2 separate regions of the Homo sapiens genome follow, and region 2 is linked to region 1. Evidence: promoter capture Hi-C in human tissues and cell types (Jung and others, 2019). All regions are on one chromosome and are shown on one strand. The core of a region is centred on a gene start or on the middle of the fragment in contact, and the rest is flanking DNA. Distances in the headings are between cores, read along the strand shown. Region 1 holds the start of TEAD3 (TEA domain transcription factor 3). Region 2 has its middle 18 kb from the start of ARMC12.

What was found. The method cuts DNA at HindIII sites, captures the fragments that hold promoters and counts their contacts. A contact is called where the count stands out against the background at its distance.
Region 2: a contact is called between a fragment that was not itself captured here and the fragment with the promoter of TEAD3 in region 1, in 2 of the 25 tissues and cell types used here (mesendoderm cells and spleen).

Annotation. Positions count from the first base shown.
Region 1 is chr6:35,491,954-35,498,328 of GRCh38, forward strand. TEAD3 (TEA domain transcription factor 3) reads right to left here and starts at 5,126. Exons shown (of 13, transcript NM_003214.4): 1 at 4,945-5,126. TULP1 (TUB like protein 1) reads right to left here. Exons shown (of 15, transcript NM_003322.6): 15 at 5,921-6,375. The coding sequence ends at 6,374. It overlaps LOC124901309 (a long non-coding RNA gene), which reads left to right and starts at 6,180. Exons shown (of 2, transcript XR_007059561.1): 1 at 6,180-6,254. RefSeq lists enhancers at 1-873, 1-370, 3,370-4,155, 5,102-6,032, 6,033-6,375 and 1 more and silencers at 4,934-4,983, 5,164-5,293, 5,304-5,633. The HindIII fragment of the contact is 31,199 bases long and covers 1-6,375 here.
Region 2 is chr6:35,751,973-35,758,739 of GRCh38, forward strand. No RefSeq gene overlaps it. Among named protein-coding and RNA genes, the nearest start is that of ARMC12, 18 kb to the left of the region's middle. RefSeq lists an enhancer at 3,256-3,845. The HindIII fragment of the contact is 8,297 bases long and covers 1-6,767 here.

The sequences.
Region 1 (6,375 bases), core at 3,876-6,375:
CAGCCCTGTAGCTCCCTTTAGGGGCCCCAGAGCCACTGCCTTGGTAGGAGGCACAGAAAAAGCCAGTCTGGGTGAGTGGGCACCTCCTGTCTTACCCCTTCCCCTGCACCAGCCCTGCTGGGAGGACGAGCTGAGCTGTGACCTTCCTGGGTCTAGCAGCCAGCAGTCCACCCCTGCAGGGACCCCAGCCCCCAAAGCATTCTCACTTGGAGTGAGAACATCACTCAAAATGTGGCAAGATCAGTGAAATCAGCAGTTTCCTCCCAAATCTCTGCCCTCAAACCTGAGCTGGGCTGACCAGCCGGGGGGGTCGAGGATGGGGAGGGCAGCTGAGGAGGGCTAAGGGAGGCTCCCACCCTCTCTGCCTTTTCCTCCCTCCTCCCCTACCCGCCCCACAGCGGGCCAGCTGTTCTCCAGCTGCCAGAAGCTCCCACCCTAGAAGTAGCCATGCTCTGGGGCAGCAGAGCAAGTAGGGATGTATCTGTCTCCCCCACCTCCAGCCCAAGGACCCCGGAGGGACCCTGCCAAGCAGCCACACCCTGCCAGGCTGGGGAGGGCTTCCCTCCTTCCTGGAACAGGGTCTCAATTTTTACAGGAGGAAGCAATTTGCAGAGCCCACTAGGAGGGAGGTGGGGGCCCCTCCACTCTCTCCCCACCCCCCGCCCTGCTTATTAATGTGCTTCCAATTTGGGACTGGAGATTCTCTGCCCCTCCTCCCCACACTACTTGGGAAAGGGGCTTTCTCAGGGAGCAGAGGGGGTTGGGATAGTCCCCCCAGGCCTCCTTCTGCAAAGCTCATCTCATCTGTTGTCACGCTCCTGCTCCCTGAAGCAGTATAGCGGGTAGGAGGGTGGAGACTCAGCCCTCAAGTCCCCTGTAGAGAGAAGGGCCCAGTTTCCAGACCTCCCTTCACCCCCTCCCTGGGACTGACTTATCTCCTCATCTTGTCCTGGTCCCAGGGTGGGAATCTCAGGTATCCAGTGAGAGACAGACTATAGGGGGTCACTGGGTTTCTCAGTTCTCAGTTACCATGCCAGACTCCTGGTACTCTGGGTCGCCCACTGGGCTCCCACCAGCCACTCAGTCAGTGCCCTCATGAGAGTCACGGTGTCATCTAAGAACAAATAGGTTTCCTCTGCGCCCTTCCTCTCGCTCGCATACACAGTTGCGTCACAGCCACTGTCCTGCTCATTCACTGTTACCCGCATCTCTCTCCTGCTGGGTTTTTAAAAATGTCTTTATTGTGATAAAATATACATAACATCAAGTTTACCATTTTAGCCATTTCTAAGTGTACAATTGAGAGGCATTAATTACATTCCTTCTTTGTTTTTATCAGTGTCTTTCTCATTGTCTTCCACATAGATGCCACACGTCAGGGACCACAGGCCCCCAAAAGCATCCCACAGAGCCTCCTACACGCCCTGCCTGGCACAGCCCTGGGGGTGTCACCCACACTACCCGAGAGTCCCAAACACGCTCAGATAGTGACCACCCACCCACAGCGCCAGCATCAGTCACGCCCCACGGTTTCTCTCACATACGGTGTCGCTTTCTGGTGCTCAGTGTCACCCACACACCGCATACCATATTCATGCTTGGCACATGTCGGATGGGGCCCACCTTGCTGGTACACACATCATACTGACACAGAGCTGGTCATGTTGTTTTACTCGCATGTAGTGTCACATGTAAGTCACACACAGACAAACCTGAGGCCATCTCACATGCTGCGTCACAACATGCAGGTCACAAGTGGTCACACCACAGCGTAACACATCACACAGATCGCCACTCATCCGGCTTCTCACGCACACGCGCCCGCGCGCTCACATACACACAGCATCGTGCGAGTGCGGTGTCCTTCACACGCAGGTCACTTGAGCATCAGAGCCACACCCAGTGTCATCTCCAGGTACACACAGATGGCTAGGCAGCCAGCTTCCTTCATCGGCACATCCTGGGTGATGCCCTGGCACACACAGAACATCCCCCATGCAGGTTCTCAGGTACAGAGGTGGCGGCACACCTGGACACATGAAGAGTCACCCAGTTTCTCTTATGGACGTGTATATCTGTCACACACACGAATGTCACAAAGCCACAGTTTCTCTCCTGCATACACCCAGCCCTGCACAAGTTGCTCTGACCAAGGTTCTCTTCCACACACATCCAGCCCCACAGAAGACAAGTCTCACCCACATAGAATGTCCCACTCATGGCTTCTCTCACACACATCCAGCGTCACACACAGTTGCATTCTCATTTCCCTCTAACACTTCCTGCCCTTTCAGGCCTGGCAGGGAGCACAGGAAACAATCGGCACTCTAGGAAACCCCAAGGGCTGAGGCTTTAGGGATGTGCAGGGGGATGAACCTCTCTGGCCCTAACCTCAACCTCCTGTGGGTCGGGGAAGACAGGCAGAGCCCTTTCCCTGGCAGGGTTCTCCCTGGAGGGAAGTGGCCCCTTCTGCAGACAGCCCAGGGCTGGCACAACACCAGGAGGGGAGGGGAGGGAAGGCAGGGCAAGGCCCCAGGGACAGTGCCGAGTGTGACCTGCTGACCTCCCCAGCTCTACCCAGAGGCAGATCCTCAGGGCCACCCCTGGGACCCCACAGCTTCTGCAGCCCCCATGTGGGAAGAAGAGGCTGCGACCTCCTAGCCCCTTCACAGAAAGCTGCAGCGTTTAGACCCCTGGGCTCCTCTCCCCATCCTGGGCGGGGAGGAGGAGGAGGGCAGGACCAGCGATTTCCACACTGAGCCCTGGGACCCCCACAGGTGTCTGGGAGTGGGGCAGAGGGTAGAGCCACCCAAGCGGCCTCTGAGCACCCTTTGTGCCATTCAGCCCTAACAGAACCCATGACCACTTCAGAGGCAAGATCCCCCAATCCACCAAGCCCCCCTGTCCCTTGACACCTGCCCCCCGCCACCTTTTCAGCCCTGTTCATCTGGCTGAGCTACTCCTCAGTCACCCCTTGGTTTGTCCTTGCCTTCTTCTTTGGGCCACTGGATCACCCACCCGCCTCTCCAGACCCCACCAAGTTCAGGTTCCATCATGGGAGAAGGAAGGCAAACTGGGAGACAGACTCTGGGAGGAGCTCAGAGAAAAGGGACTTGAGAAGTCATTCATTCCAAGCAGGGAAACTGAGGCCCAAAGGGGCCTGCCAAGATGGCGCAACTGGTTAAAGGTCCGGAGGGGACCAGATCCCTATTTCTTGACCACCTCTGTTGAGATATCTTCTCCTTTGATATTGTTGAGAATATCAAATCCTCCCGGTTTTAACATTCCTTCAGTTGGCAGAAAGTGCCAGGGTCTACAAACCTTTGGGTGAGGATGGGAGCAGGGCTCAGGACCCATGTGATGCTTCTGTACACTTAATGTGCTGCTCTGTCCTGGCAACCACTGACCACTCTAACAAGCCATTCCCCAGCCCAGATGCGCTCATTAGCATTAATGACGTTCCCTCCCTGGGGGGGTAGGGGAAGGCCCAAGAGCTTGGGACTCATACTGGCTCCTACCCTCTCCCTGAGGAGGGGGCATCCAGGGCCCCTGAAGTTACCCTTACTGGACAGCCTTGTCCTGGAAGATCTGTGCACTCTGCCCACTGGGTGAGCAGGGACCCAGAAGACCACAGAACCACATCCTTTAGGGAGTGCCCCTACGAGAGGGGTCTTGGTGGGAGGGGGGCTACAGGAGTCTAGAAGGGAGAGGACATAATTCCCCCAAATCTCCAACTTTTGAGGAAAGCCTCCCCTCCTTGCCCCAGGTGGCCCCAGCACTGGGGTGGAACATGTGTACAGAGAACCAGGCCACAAGAGACTGGATACGCAGAGCCGCTATGGGCACCAGCCCCTCTGAGCTGTGTCCAGCCCCTACCCCTATGCCCTGTTCTTCCGGACAACAAGTCCAGGCCTGACCTGGTTCTGCCCCTACCTGGAAAGAGGGAAGACACAGAAGAAGACAGCCCCTGAGAAGTCCGCCCCAAGGCCTCCTTCCCCCTCGCACTGAAAGAATCTCTCAGCCCTGGATCAGGGCCCCTCACCAGGAAAGTTGACAGAGCGGGGTCTCAATGACACTGCCCCAGGGCCCAGCTGGGCTGGAAAACAGATCCAGACCAGCGCTCCCAGCCCTCCCTCCCCTAGCAGGAATAAAGGGCATGACAGACAATGGTGGGGACCGGGGTAGGAAGCGGGAGACCAGCCACCCTCAAACCTTGTCAAGTCTAAACAAGGGCCCTGAGCAAGTGTGGGGAAGAAAAGGCCCCAAATCCAGACCCCTCCGAGCCAAGCTCACAGCGCTCAGGGCTGGAACTCTGAATCAGCACCCCGACGCAGGCGGCAGAACTGAAGGGAACGTGAGCCCCTCCCTGCCTCTCAGGGGACACACGGCCGGGGCGCGCGGCTTTGGTCCCAGACACCCTCCACAACCCAGCGCAGCCGCGGCACCGCGCGCAGAAACCGGCCTGGGCGCTGGGAGGCCGGGCCCGAGGCCTGCGTGGAGCTGAGGCCGGGCGGGCTCCGGGAGCGCGCGGGCCGGGAGTCCAAAGGGCGGCGGGGCCCGGGACTGGGCGCCCCGGATATGAGCTCCAGGGTGGCAGGCAGGCCCTCCACACTGTGCGGCCCCCGGATCCCCGCCCCGACCCCCCAAGCACGGACGGCGGGACAGGCGACGGCACAGGGGACACGGTCTCCCCGGCTTCCCCACCTTCCCGGACCAACTCGTCCCCGTCGCGGGGGGGTGGGGAGGGCGGGGGGCGGGGCTTCCCGGAGAGATTTTCCCCCTTCCCTCTAAACTTCCCGGCACCCCGATCCGGGGCTCCAGCTCCGGCTGGACAATAGCTCGGGGACCCAGTCCCCCTCGAGTGTCGCCCCCCCAGCCAGCCCAGCCGACCAACCAAACCACCTCTCCCGAGCGGGGCCTCCTCCCGGCGTCCGCCCGGCTTACCTGGTCCGAGCTCGCGGGGGCGCTCCGGCCGGGCCGCTCCGCCGGGCCCGAGGGAGCCGCAAGGGGGGCCGGGGAAGGGGGGTCGTGGGGAGGGGGCTGGCCGGAATGTGCGGAATGAGCCGGGCTGGAGCGGGAGGCGCCGAGCGCGGAGGAGGGAGCGAGCGGGACGGAAAGTTTGTGTTGAGGAGCCGGGGCGGGGGTGGGGGCTGCGGGAAGGAGGGGGCGGGGCGCGCAGGGGGCGGTGCTGGCCGGGAGGGGCGGGGCCGTCCAGCCGCGCTCGGGCCGCCTACCCCGCGGCCTCGCGACCCGGCCACCCCGGCTGGCGCGCGCCTGGGCGCCCCGCTCCTCGCCCGCCCGTGCGGAGCTGCCTTCCTCCCCCTGCGCTCCGGGCCTCGCCCCGCTCCCGGGCACCCGCCGGAATTTGGGGCTCCGGCCTGGGGCGGGGCCGAGGGCGGAGCCCTCGCCTCGCGGGCAGGGCTCCCGTCGGTGCCGGGGGCCGTGGGTGCCGCGTCACGAGGAGCCCGGCAGAGCCGGAGCGCACGGGCCCCGGGGCTCCCGGCCCCTCCACCCTAGTCCCGAGCCGCCAAGGCGGAGCGTACCCTCCAGCTCGCGGGCCTGCCCCCCACTCCCGGGGCCCCAGACCCGGCTCCGCCCTGGCGGCTGCGCCCGCCCTGCCGGGACCCGGTTTGTCTGGTTCTCCCCGCGTGGCTAGTTTCTCGAATTTCTTCTCCCTTTCTCCCTCTTCCCCGACCTCCGGGACCCTCCCTTTCGCCCCGGCTCCCCGGGCCCCCACGGGGGGCGTCTCGACGCTGTGCGGCCGCCGAGTTTCGGTAGGACCCGCGACGGGCGCGGGGAGGGGACGCGGGAGCGCCCGGGGCCTGGGCAGGAGTGGGACGGGGGTTGAGACTTCCAGCTCGCGCCTCGGACGCCTCCTGCCGCCTCGTTCTCCGCACGCGCTGAGGAACCACCGCTCCGCTTGGCCAAGGACGCGGCTTTATTGGGGATGTGGGTGCCTGGCCCTCGTCCCCCATCACCTACCCCCTCCTCCTAGCCCGCCCCAGCTCCTCGGAGCCCTAGCGCGGTCCCGGGGAGAGGGGAGGTTAAAACAACAATGACTACTGCTCCCGGACAGGAAGTGACTGGGGCGCGGGGAGGAGGGGGGCACAGCGGCGCAGGCGAGCTCCGAGACCAGATGTGCGGCTCCAACTCCAGATGTTCTTCATCTCCGTCCTACCCGCCGTCCGGGCTCCTCCTGCCTCGGCCTGTGCCAGGCTGGGGAGAGGACGGAGGTCACCGAGAGGCAGTGAGAGGTCAGCCCCGACACAGGAGCAGTTTTCCGCGGGAGCTTTGCTGGAGGGACCCTGCCAGCCTCCACTGAATCCTTTCCCCCACGCTGACGGGCTCTGGGGGCGCTGAGGGGCTGCTGGGGTC
Region 2 (6,767 bases), core at 1,693-4,192, 260 kb after region 1:
AGGTGTTGGGCATCACTTTCAAATTCTCCTCCCCACCACATCCACCTAGTTCCCCCATTTCCACTGCTACTGCCCTGTCCTCCACATCAGGACTTGCCTACTTCTTTCTTTCTTTCTTTTTTTTTTTTTTTGAGACAGGGTCTCACTCTGTCTCCCAGGCTAAAGTGCAGTGGAGCAAACACAGCTCACTGCAGCCTCGACCTCCCAGGCTCACGTGGTCCTTCCACGTCAGCCTCCTTGGGTAGCTGGGACTACAGGAGTGTGCCACCGCGCCCAGCTAATCTTTTGTATTTTTTTTGTAAAGACGAGGTTTTGCATGTTTCCCAGGCTGGTCTCAAACTCCTGAGCTCAAGCAATCCACCTTCCTCAGCCTCCCAAAGTGTTGGGATTACAGGTGTGAGCCACCACACTGGGCCTGACTTTTCCTCCTCCTGGTTTCCATCCTCTCCAGCCCTACGCACTCCAGGCTAATTTTATAATCACACATGGCACCATTCTCAAAAACCTTCAGGGGCTCCCCATTGCCATGGTGAAATCTTTCTCGGCATCAAAGCAAAGTCACGTGATCTGACAGGTATAAATGTATTCTCAGCAAAAGGTTGAGTTTTGTCCTCAAAGATGTGGTCACTGGACCCCTTTTTTACATGACGAAACCAAATGAATTAGCTTTGCATTCAAGGCTCTTCACAGTGTGATCCTCTTGCCTGCCACAAGCCTACTGTGCCACATCTCTGCTCCAGCCAAACTGGAGCAAACTAGTCATTGCTGCCCTAATCATACCATGTGTACTCTTGCTCCAAACATGTTTTCTTTTTTTTTCTTTAAATTACTATTATAAAGAGAAGATGCCTCCAAACATTTTTTTTTTTTCCTTTTTTTGAGACGGAGTTTTGCTCGTTGCCCAGGTTGGAGTGCAAGGGCGCGATATCTCGGCTCACCGCAACCTCCACCTCCTGGGTTCAAGCGATTCTCCTGCCTCAGTCTCCCAAGTAGCTGGGATTACAGGCATGCGCCACCACCATGCCTGGCTAATTTTGTATTTTTAGTAGAGACGGGGTTTTTCCATGTTGCCCAGGATGGTCTCAAACTCCCGACCTCAGGTGATCTGCCCACCTCGGCCTCCAGAGTGCTGGGATTACAGGCATGAGCCACCGCACCTGGCTTACTTTTGATACAACTTTCCTGCTGCCTAGAATGCTAGAATGGCCTTCCCTCTTCTTCCAACTGGGTTGTGCCTTCTAGTGTCATCAAAGTTGACGTCCCACTGCAGCCTAGATCTTTTTTCAAGCATACTAGCCTCTGGTGCACCCTGCAGCACTTCTCATCTGAACCTCTCACTTGGCATTTGGCAAATTAAAGCTTGAATCTTATATACCTTGTTCTTTTATTCTTTTTTGCAGTAGGACATATGTTTTTTGTTCTTTGTGGTTTTTTTCTTTTGAGATGGAGTCTCACTCTGTCGCCTAGGCTGGAGTGCAGTGGCATGATCTTGGTTCACTGCAACCTCTGCATCCCCAGGTTCAGGAGATTCTCCTGCCTCAGCCTCCTGAGTAACTAGGATTATAGGTGCCCACCACCATGCCCAGCTAATTTTTTTTTTGAGACGGAGTCTTGCTCTATTGTCCAGGCTGGAGTGCAGTGGCACGATCTTGGCTCACTGCAACCTCTGCCTCCCAGGTTCAAGCGATTCTCCTGCCTCAGCCTCCCGAGTAGCTGGGATTATGGACACGCACCATCATGCCTGGCTAAATTTTGTATTTTTAGTAGAGACCAAGTTTCGCCATGTTGGCCAGGCTGGTCTCGAACTCCTGACCTCAAGCGATCTGCCTGCCTCGGCCTCACAAAGTGCTGGGTTTATAGGTTTGAGTCACTGTGCCTGGCCTGCCTGCAGTAGGACATATCTGACTGCTTACCAAAGCCTTGAAGAGCCGGGCGTGGTGGCTCATGCCCTGCACTTTGGGAGGCCGAGACGGGCGGATCACGAGTTCAGGAGATGGAGACCATCCTGGCTAACGTGGTGAAACCCCATCTCTACTAAAAATAAAATACAAAAAATTAGCTGGATGTGGTGGCGGGCGCCTATAGTCCCAAGCTACTCGGGAGGCTGAGGCAGGAGAATGGTGTGAACCCAGTAGGCAGAGCTTGCAGTGAGCGGAGATCGCGCCACTGCATGCCAGCCTGGGCGACAGAGCCAGACACCATCTCAAAAAAAACAAAAACAGAAACAAAAACAAAAAAAACCTTGAAGGAAGAGCCTGCTCAGGGCAGGCACATGATAATGGCAATTGGCTGATGGTAATGAAAGGAATTGGCAGTGGGAAGATCAGATGGGAGTGGTGTATTATCTGCTGCCATGTAACAAATTATGAGAAAACTTGTGTATCAGCTTGGGTCTGATCAAGAGAGAAACCTCACAGTAATTTAACAGGAAATTTTAATATGATTATTAAAACAGGGGATTGGAGTAACAAAGAATTGTTTAGTAAGGAGTTATGAGAACCCTATGGAATAATGAATAGCTGACATGAGGAGCAGCCCCTACCTCCCAAGATACAGCACCCAAGAAAGAGATACCCTCTCCCCACCCAGGGCTGAGATCCAGACCTTGTTGAGTAGAGCACAGCCCACAGCTCACTAGGTGGCAGAAAAGTCACTGTACTGTCATGCCAGTGGAACTTGCCAGAAATATGCCCTCTAGGATGCCAGGGAAAGCTCTTTCCCAAGGAGGTGTGGAACCAGAGACTTTCGACTACAGAACTAACTGAGTGGGGTGTGCAGGGGAAGCTGCTTCCCACTGGGTGCTGCTGGCCTTCATGTGCTGTGGGAGGCGGCACTGGAGTACCTGTGGGTGCTGCAGGAGCCTGATGCGGCAGAAGCCACATGCACGCAGGTGGTATGTGAGGCAGAAGTTGGAGGTATTCTGCTTACACTACAGCCCAAGGTGGACAGTGCCAGGAGAAGCTGCTAGCCACTGGGTGTTGCTGGTTACTCTGGGAACTGGGCACTGAAAGCTGTTTGCAGAGCAGGAGCCTGTCAATCAAGCACACTAGAACCAGGAAGCAAAAACCTCTTCCTCCCAAAATGTCTCTCCAGCTCCCTTCCTCTTAGTCATTTAAATATCAATAAACATATGTTACTTCTCACAGGAATTTGAGAGCATCTTGACTGGGTGGTTCTGGCTCAGTCAAGCTGTGGTTACAGTCACGCTTTTGCCAAGGACTGTTGTTATTTGAAGGCTTGACTGGGGCTGGAGGATCCCCTTCCAAGACAGCGCACTTATGGGACTGACAAGTTGGTGCCAGCTGTTGGCAGGAGGCCTCAGTCTTTCTACACGTGGGCATCTCCACAGGGGTGTTTGAGAGTCTTCATGACATAGCAGCTGGCTTCCCTTATAGTAAATCGTCCAGGAGAGAACAGAGCAGACGCTGCAATGCCTTTTCTGACCTCACCTCAGAAGTCATACACTGTCACTTCTGCCACATTCTATTCATTAGAAGTCAGTCTAGCCCCCATTCAAAGGAAGGCAGTTAGGCTCTACCTATTAAAGGGAAGAATATCAAGGAATGTGTGAGCATTTAAAAACCACTACAGGGACACTGTCAACAAAGACTAATTGGACACCTACTGTGTGCTCAGCAGCTAGATGCATCTGTATCCCCACAGAGACAATCCCTGCCAAGAAGAAGAGAAATTTTATAACCAGTAGTTGACACTCCATCCTTTCCCTCTGTCTTTTTTTCCAGCTGTTTAGCTTGTTTTCTCAACTACAGGCCTCTTTGACCCTCAGGCAATTCTATTTACAAAGAAACATCTCTTCTCATCTTCTCATTTAATTCTAAGGTTTCAGAGAAGAGGAGTGGCTTGAATTGGATCTCCAGAGAGGAGAGAGAAGAGCTCTCCAGGTTGGGATAGTTGGACTTTACAGGAAGGGAAACCAATCAGAGTTTCCCTCTGATGGGATTGTGATGGGGTAGGGTGCTGGTAGATGATTTTGGCCAGGCAGATGGCCAGTTACTTCTCTAACTGATTACCTGAAGGAGATGTATGAGAGACAGACACAAAGGGAACTCCAGCCCCACTGCATGGCTTCCAGTAGGACCTCAACACAGGGTTCTCAAGCAAAACTTGGCTGGAGTCCCCAGGTGTGTCTTAAAACTTAAAGCAGGGGCCGGGTACCTGTAATCCCAGTGCTTTGGGAGGACAGGCAGGGGGATCACTTGAGGCCAGGAGTTCCAGACCAACCTGGGCAACATAGCAAGACCCCCATTTCTTTTCTTTTCTTTTTTTTTTTGAGAAGGAGTTTCACTCTTGTTGCCCAGCCTGGAGTGCAACAGCGCGATCTGGGCTCACCGCAACCTCCGCCTCTCGTGTTCAAGCAATTCTCTTGTGTCTCAGCCTCCTGAGTAGCTGGGATTACAAGCGCCCACCACTACGCCTGGCTAATTTTTGGTATTTTTAGTAGAGACGGGGGTTTCACCATGTTGGCCAGGCTGGTCTCGAACCCCTGACCTGACCTCAGGTGATCCACCTGCCTTGGCCTCCCAAAGTGTTGGGATTACAGGCGTGAGCCACCATGCAAGACCCCCATTTCTTTTTTTGTTTTTTGTTTTTTGTTTTGAGACGGAGTCTCACTCTGTCACCCAGGCTGGAGTGGCACGATCTCGGCTCACTGCAAGCTCTGCCTCCCTGATTTCACGCCATTCTCCTGCCTCAGCCTCCGAGTAGCTGGCACTACAGGCGCCCGCCACAATGCCCAGCTAATTTTTTGTATTTTTAGTAGAGACGGGGTTTCACTGTATTAGCCAGGATGGTCTCGATCTCCTGACCTTGTGATCCGCCCACCTTGGGCTCCCAAAGTGCTGGGATTACAGGCATGAGCCACCACGCCCGGCCGAGATTGGTTTCATTTTTATGAAACAGGAATTTTTTTTATCATCATCAAATACAACCTTTATACATCTCTGATAATAATAAATGGCAAATGTGGTAGGCAGCCTTCTAAAACTATCCCAGTGACCCCCACTTCTTAAATATGTCCTGTTTAATTTGCTGCCCTTGAATCTGAGCTGGACCTAGTAATTTGCTTCTAATCTAGAATATGGCAAAGTGAGAGCATGTTCCTTTTTTCTTTTTTTTTTGAGATGGAGTCTCGCTCTGTCGACCAGGCTGAAGTGCAGTGGCACAATCTCAGCTCACTGCAACCTCCGCCTCCGAGGTTCAAGCAATTCTCCTGCCTCAGCCTCCCAAGTAGCTGGGATTACAGGTGCCTGCCACCATGCCCAGCTAATTTTTTTAAATTTTTAATAGAGACGAGGTTTTGCTATGTTGGCCAGGCTGGTCTCGAACTTCTGATCTCTGGTGATCCGCCTGCATCGGCCTCCCAAAGTGTTGGGATTACAGGCGTGAGCCACTGCGCCCGGGCCGCATGTTACTTTTGAAATTAAATTACAAAAGACTGTGATTCCTCTTGTTCCCATTCTCTCTTGCCCTTTCACATGCTCATGCTGATAAAGGCAGCTGCCAAGTTGTGAGCTTCCTTGTAGACAGGCCTACATGGTAAGGAACCCGGGAAGGACCCAGGCCAACAGACTCTGCAGAGCCAAAGTTGTCAATCCAACAGCTTGTAAGGACCCAAAACCTGCCAACAACCTCTCGAATAAGCCTGGAAGCAAATGCACCCCCCAGTGGAAACTGAAGATGACTGCAACCGCAGCCAGTGTGAGAAACTCAGAGCCAGACTACATGGCTAAGCTGTGATAGATTCCTGACACACAGAAACCATGAGATAAAAAATAATGAGTTAAGCCACTGATATGGTTTGGCTGTGTGTCCCCACCCAAACCTCCTGTCGAACTGTAATTCCCAATGTTGGGGGAGGGACCTGGTGGGAGGTGATTGGATCATGGGGGCAGATCCCCGCTTGCTGTTCTCATGAAAGTGACTGAGTTCTCAATGAGATCCGATGGTTTAAAAGTGTGCGACACTTCCCCCTCTGCTCTCTCTGCCATGGTAAGATGCGCCTGCTTCCCCTTTGCCTTCCGCCATGATTGTAAGTTTCCTGATGCCTCAGCCATGCTTCCTGTACAGGCTGTGGAAGTGTGAATCGACAAACCTCTTTTCTTCATAAATTACCATCTCAGGTAGTTCTTTATAGCAGTGTGAGAACAGACTAATACAGCCACTAAACTTTGGGGGAATTCGTTTATGCAAGAAGGTAATCAATACAACAGGTGATTGTTCCAAGGGTCCAGGCACTGGGTCAGTTCTCTTCTTCCACTCAAGGATGGGAAGAAGAATACTCAATGCTACATTCCAGTGTGAGCCTTTAATGACTGTGACTCCTCCCCACAAGTAACTATGGCCATCTGTGTGTCCTGGAACATGACATGGATTCCTTTGAGAGAAGCAGGAAGGGCATGGAGGGAGCTTCCCCCTCTACAACACCTGCTCCCCCTGAGCCCAAGAATAAACCAAAACCCCAGCCTGGGAGGCCCCCTTTCCTCTCCAATGTCTTCCTTTCCTCAAAATCCCCTTATTGCCCCCGAGTTGCTCAGTCATTGCCACCTTAGAATGTTCTTTCCCATGAGCTGGGCCAAGGAGTCCTACAGTCAAAACTAAGTGATGGCCAGGGACAGTGGCTCATGCCTGTAATCCCAGCACTTTGGGAGGCTGAGGTGGGCAGATTGCTTGAGCTCAGGAGTTTGAGAATAGCCTGGAAACATGGCAAAACCCCACCTCTACCAAAAAAAAAAAAAAAAGAAAAAAGA